Linked DNA regions of Homo sapiens: region 1 is linked to region 2. Evidence: promoter capture Hi-C in 16 types of primary human blood cells and fetal thymus (Javierre and others, 2016). All regions are on one chromosome and are shown on one strand. The core of a region is centred on a gene start or on the middle of the fragment in contact, and the rest is flanking DNA. Distances in the headings are between cores, read along the strand shown.

Evidence for each region. The method cuts DNA at HindIII sites, captures the fragments that hold promoters and counts their contacts. A CHiCAGO score of 5 or more calls a contact.
Region 1: a fragment that was not itself captured here is called in contact with the fragment with the promoter of CAMTA1-AS1 in region 2 in 2 of 17 cell types (M2 macrophages and M1 macrophages); the score reaches 7.7 in M2 macrophages.

What each region holds. Positions count from the first base shown.
Region 1 is chr1:7,545,691-7,548,640 of GRCh38, reverse strand. All of the region lies in intron 6 of CAMTA1 (calmodulin binding transcription activator 1), which reads right to left. Among named protein-coding and RNA genes, the nearest start is that of CAMTA1-AS1, 110 kb to the right of the region's middle. The HindIII fragment of the contact is 685 bases long and covers 1,049-1,733 here.
Region 2 is chr1:7,440,192-7,443,500 of GRCh38, reverse strand. CAMTA1-AS1 (CAMTA1 antisense RNA 1) reads left to right here and starts at 1,884. Exons shown (of 2, transcript NR_187278.1): 1 at 1,884-2,413; 2 at 2,653-2,934. The region is part of intron 5 of CAMTA1 (calmodulin binding transcription activator 1); the gene reads right to left. The HindIII fragment of the contact is 2,325 bases long and covers 304-2,628 here.

The DNA of each region.
Region 1 (2,950 bases), core at 142-2,641, 110 kb before region 2:
ACCTCCACCCCTAAGGGGATACCTTCCATGGGCATCTCCACCCCTAAGGGGACACCCTACACCAGCACCTCCACCCCTAAGGGGCACCCTGCACGGGCACCTCCACCCCTAAGGGGGCACCCTCCACCAGCACCTCCACCCCTAAAGGGGCACCCTCCACCAGCACCTCCACTCCTAAGGGGGCACCCTCCACCAGCACCTCCACTCCTAAGGGGCACCCTGCACGGGCACCTCCACCCTTAAGGGGTGCCCTCCATGGGCACCTCCATTCCTAAGGCGCACCCTGCATGGGAATCTTCCTCCTTAAGGAGGCTTGCCAGACCCTCCCACAGTCTACAGAAGAGGGCAAGGAGTTGGGGGAGGTGGCAAAGGAGCTGCTGGAAACTGTAGACATGTGCCCAACACAGAGGGTCGAAAACCACAGAGCAGACCCAGAACTGTGCTTCCTCAGTACCCATACAGGGCATGACCAGTGACCTGGTTAATGCCTGTTGCCCAGCATAACTGTCAACTTTTATTGTTTGCAATTGTTAATTCTTATTTCTCTCTCAAAACGATATGGTCACCTGATCAATATAAATGCTCACACTGACCATCTTAAGTCGGGGCCAGCATATGTGTGGCAGGAACCCTTCCTGTCCCTCTGTTCATGGCAGACATTACTAATCAATCACGTCACTGTTTCCCCTGAGCCTGGAGATGGCTTCAGAATCCTCCTTACAACAGCATAAGGGCATATTGACGGGTGAGTGGGGGGTCCACACAGTGGAGTGCCCTTGCAAGGGGTGTCAGAGTCTGGGTTTGGAGGGGGCCCACATGGGGTGGCAGAGATGTGAGACTGGTTGTGTACAGGGAGATTATGTTGGAAGAATAATTCTCTTAGGCCACACATAAATATACTAACACTAACGGTAGCTGATGAGCTAAAAAAAAAAAAAATTGCAAAAAAGTCTCATAATGTTTTAGGAAAGTTTATGAATTTGTGTTGGGCCACATTCAAAGCTGTCCTGGGCCACAGGCAGCCCACAAGCCATGGGTTGGACAAGCTTGATTTAAATCATCTTTAGATTACTTATAATACCTAGTAACAATGTAAATGCTATGTAAATATTTCTTATACTGTTTTATTTAGGGAATAATCATAAGAAAAAAATATGTTTGGTACAAATGCAATTTTTTTCCTGGATATTTTTGGCCCGTTGTTGGTTGAATCCACGGATGCGAAACTCATGAATGTGGAAGGCCAACTCTGTGTGTGTGTGTGTGTGTGTGTGTGTGTGTGTGTGTGTGTGCATATGATACATATATTCCCCAGCTCTATCTACTGAGAGAGGCCTGGGAGCAGTGAGCATACTCAGGCCCAGATCTTGGCTTCTAAACACCACTTTCCACTAAAAGAAACCAGGTTTCTTTGGAGAAATGGTTGATTTCAGGAAAGTACAAGATATGCCTGGAACATCTTGTTCAGAAAGCAAGGAAGTGCTCAAAGAATGATTGGGCTTATATCAAATGACCCAGAAACCAGCTTGAATGGAGGTCCACCAACCAAATCTGAGACAACATGAACACTGAAATAAATAACAATGGTAATAGATTATAATCCATTGAATAAAATAAGGTTATACATAAACAAATGAATAAAAACTGAAAGTCTGATGGGGAATACTTGCATATACTATGAAAGTACTTTCTCACAAAATATTTATTAACTACAAACAGAAAATGAGTAAGCTTACAGTGGAGAAGCCTTGCAGACACCACCTGAATTAAGTGGTCAAGGTGAACATCACCAGTCATGAGTAAAATGGAAATCCTGCATCAACAGACACTTTTCAAAATAAGACGTTCGTCCAGCCAACAAGCATATGAAAAAGTGCTCAACGTCACTGATCATTAGGGAAATGCAAATCAAAACCACAATGAGATACCATCTCATGCCAGTCGGAATGGTGATCATTAAAAAGTTAAAAAACAACAGATGCTGGCGATGTTGCAGACAAGAAGAAACGCTGTTACACTGTTGGTGGGAATGTAAATTAGTTCGGCTATTTTGGAAGACAGTGGGGCAATTCTTCAAAGATCTAGAAGTGGAAATACCATTTGACCCAGCAATCCCATTACTGGTTATATACCCAAAGGAATAGAAATCATTTTGTTATAAAGATACATGCATGTGTATGTTCATTGCAGCACTATTCACAATAGCAAAGACACAGAATTAACCCAAATGCCCATCAATGATAAACTGGATTTTAAAAATGTGGTACATATACACCATTGAATACTATACAGCCATAAAAAGGAATGAGAACATGTACTTTGCAGGGACATGGATAGAACTGGAAGCTGTTATCCTCAGCAAACTAATCCAGGAATAGAAAACCAGGCCGGGCGCAGTGGCTCACGCCTGTAATCCCAGCACTTTGGGAGGCTGAGGTGGGTGGATCACGAGGTCAGGAGATCGAGACTATCCTGGCTAACACGGTGAAACCCTGTCTCTACTAAAAAATACAAAAATTTAGCCAGGCGTGGTGGCAGGTGCCTGTAGTCCCAGCTACTCGGGAGACTGAGGCAGGAGACTGGTGTGAACCCGGGAGGTGGAGCTTGCAGTGAGCTGAGATTGAGCCACTGCACTCCAGCCTGGGCGACAGAGCGAGACTCCGTCTCAAAAAAAAAAAAAAAAGAAAAGAAAAGAAAACCAAACACCACATGTTTTCACTTGTAAGTGGGAGCTGAACAATGAGAACACATGGACATGTCCGGGGGGACAACACACACTGGGGCCTGGTGGTGGGGGTGGGGAGGGAGAGCATCAGAAAGAATAGCTAATGGATGCTGGGCTTAATAGCTAAATGATGGGTTGATCTGTGTAGCAAGCCACCATGGCACATGTCTACCTATGTAACAAACCTGCACATCCAGGGTACATCCTAACATGTATCCTGGAACT
Region 2 (3,309 bases), core at 635-3,134:
GTCCAGGCGCCAGTCTCCAGAAAATGCTGATTCGGATGCCCAGGGCTGGGTGACTTTCCACTCTCCCTGCTGTCGTCTGACATGGCTATCATCATCTCCACGTGCTCCCAAGGCCACCTTGATGCAGCATCTACTAACTCAACAAGTACTAGCTAGGCTTGCCATGGGCCAGGCCCGATGCTGGGGCTGAGCATGCGATGGGGACCAGAACAGACCTGGTCCCTGCCTCAAGGGGACTGTACCCCACGAAAGTGGGGAAATGGACTTCATGCAGATCATCATACACGTCTAGGGTATGAAGCTTATGTGTGACTGAGCTGGGAACCCGAAGCCTTATGCTTTGCAGCCGTCATCCAGGGCTTTGACTTGGGTAGAGACACAGTATACTTGAGCTGGGAGGGACAGTTCTGTTGGAGTGAATGAGGCCAAGAAGTCAGGAGGAGGATCTGCGCAGGGGCAAGGAGAGACCACAGGCAGGAAGAAGTGTTCAAAGACAGGGATGGAAAGGACATCCTGAGTCCAGGAGGTCAACAGAGAATGTGGCATCTGGGAAGGCCAGGGCAGTAGCACTGTGTCATAGCCCTTGAGTCTCAGTGTCTGCCTTCTCCATAAGAACACCAGCTCTGGGGGCAGGGACCATGCTTGCTTTATTCCTTGCCAATCTCTAAATACCAGCACAGTACTGACATACAGTAGGTGCTCAATAAATGTTTGTAAACTAGATAAAAAGTGCCTCATAGATATTGTCTCATTTACTCTTAACAACAACCCAGTGGAATCAGGATTATCAGCATCCGCATTTTGCCAGTGAGGGAATGGAGGCTCTGGGAGATTGAGAACCTCAGCCAAGTCACGCGTTGAGTAAACCATGGAGGCAGGATTTGCACCCAGGGCTGCTCTGACCCTCAAACCCATATTCTCAACCCGTGTGCCACTTTGCTTTGGCCTCTTTTTCTAGCAGATTCTTTATCTCTTGGAGCTGCTGCTACCACCTCCATGAATACAACCGGGCCATTGGTATGCGAACCTACGTGCTCCCTGTACCGGCTGCCTGCTCATCTATGCATATTTCGTTATTAAAATGGGGATACTTCAATCTCCGAATAATTTTGTCTTTAGGGAAGCTCCGTCCCCAGCTGCCCACAGCGAAAGCCCCCAGGAAGCAGGCACCTACTTGTGATTCAGGCCACCGTGTCCATCTGTCAACACGGTTGTCTCCTGTATCTGCCATCTCTTATTTATAATCCCGCTCAGATTAATGAATGACAGTAGTTCTCATCACAGGAAATTTGATTAATCAATTTAAGTGCTTAATCACCACAGCCTTGCTGAGCGCTGAGCATAAGGGATCTCACTTTGATGCAGATGAATTTCAGGAAGAACTGGGAGAGTAGAAACAAAATTGTCAGCACTTCTCCATGGAAACCCCATGGAGGTTTCAGGGCTGAGGACAGCGCTGGGGAAGTCCTGGGGCCCCCAGAAGCCAGAGGTGGGGTAACAAGAGGATGGGTGGATGACTTACGCAGGGAGCAGCCCTCTGAAACCGCCGGAATCGAGGCCTCCTTTGCACCTTGATTCCACCCAGAGTCTGCGCCTACGCTTTGGGCAGGGGAGGCAGAACCCACGTTGGTCTAAGAGCAGGGAGAAGTGGGCATGATCCTACCATGCTGCAGGGCCTCGGGATGGGGATGGGATTTGCTGCTCTTTGTGCCCAATTAATGAGCGAGACGAACAAGCACACTGAGTAGCTTCCTGCCAGCCGTCCCCTTTGGCAGCAAACTCATCCCCACCTCTGGGCCTTGGCTCGAGTTGTTAGCCAACTCAACCTTGAAGCCGTCCCTTCCTATCAGCCCATGCAAATTCTGCCATCAGCCAAGGACCGCCTCTTCCTCTTCCGGGAAGCTGACTTCAAGCCATGCCCTTCCCTTTTGCAAGCTCCCGTGGCTCGCGACCCGCAGCCCACCCCTGCACCAGTGGACACTGCGGGATGGCCTGGCCTCGGCTCTGCATTTTCACTTCTCTTAGCTCTCATCTCCTCCACCACAGAGACAGCTCTGTCTGAGTATCTTTCTGATACTGTTCTTTATCCCCCAGGACTGGCCCAGCCCAGGGCGGTGCGTACAGCAGACACTTAATGTAACACAGTAGCAGCTTTTAATTTCTCAGGCCAATGAGATACAGACAGTCACTGGTATGGTAGTTTTTCAGTCAAGCATCAAGGGTGTGTGCCCCTGGGGGACATTGCAAAATGCTGGGTGTGGGGAGCAGTTTGAACAGCAACATTCAATATTACACCATGTTTTCATTTTTCAAATGCAGGAAGAACTTATTAGTTTGAATTACAAACAACAGAAGTAGAAAACTCCACAAGGAAAAATCTCAGCTGGTGAAGAAGCTCAGGAGCTCACAGAAGGTGAGCACTTGGGGGTAAGTGGGCTGGGCACCTCAGGAGTTTTGTGATGTCCAAAAGGAGATGTGGGTGACGTAGGGTTTAAAACCCGCACCTGTAGGACCAGTCAAATGGAGACAGAGTTGGCTTCCCAGAGCTACCGCAAGGGCACGAGGTAGGAGGACCAAGCTACCAGTTACTGAATGGGCACTGAGCAGCTATAATGTGTGCACTAAGCTTGTCCTGTCTTAATCCCAAAACAGTGTGATGAAGTAATCAAACCATCGCCATCGGCTAAGGAAACCGAGGGGTGCAGAGCTGATGTCGCTTGGCCCGCAAGCCACGGAGAGTGGGAGCAAGAGGAGGTTTGGTCAGGCTGCCTCTGCCCCTGTCTTTCTCGGCCCACAGGCTCCAAGCAGGCAGGACCAGACCGCAGCTTCCAGGTGCTGGGATCCGGGGACCACACCTTCACCTGCTGCTCTCTTGAAGGAAAAACAAATATCTGCCTCTGGCAGGTAAAAAAAAAATAAAAGGAGTGCGTCTCATGCTGTTTGTGATAGCTGCTACACAGAGAAAGACTAATTTTGGAAACCGATTATTAAAAAATATATTCACTCTGAACGACGCAATCAATCAAACCTTCAAGATGCAGGTTCAGCCGGTGCCGTGGAACTCCCAGGCAACACACGGCTCCTTCCCAGGCTGCTGTCTGGCCCGGCCAGGCCTCCTTCCCACTGGGACTGTCCCAGCTCTGCCCTGGGGACATTGGCCTCCGGCCTGCCCAGGCTGCAGTGAGGATGGAGAGGGAAGAGGTCGGGGCTCCCGATTGCTGACTGGTCAGGAGGCAGCTGCGGAGTCAGGATTGAAGCCGCATCGGCTCCCATGCCATGAAGTGGACAAAGTGGACACCTCTCCCCACC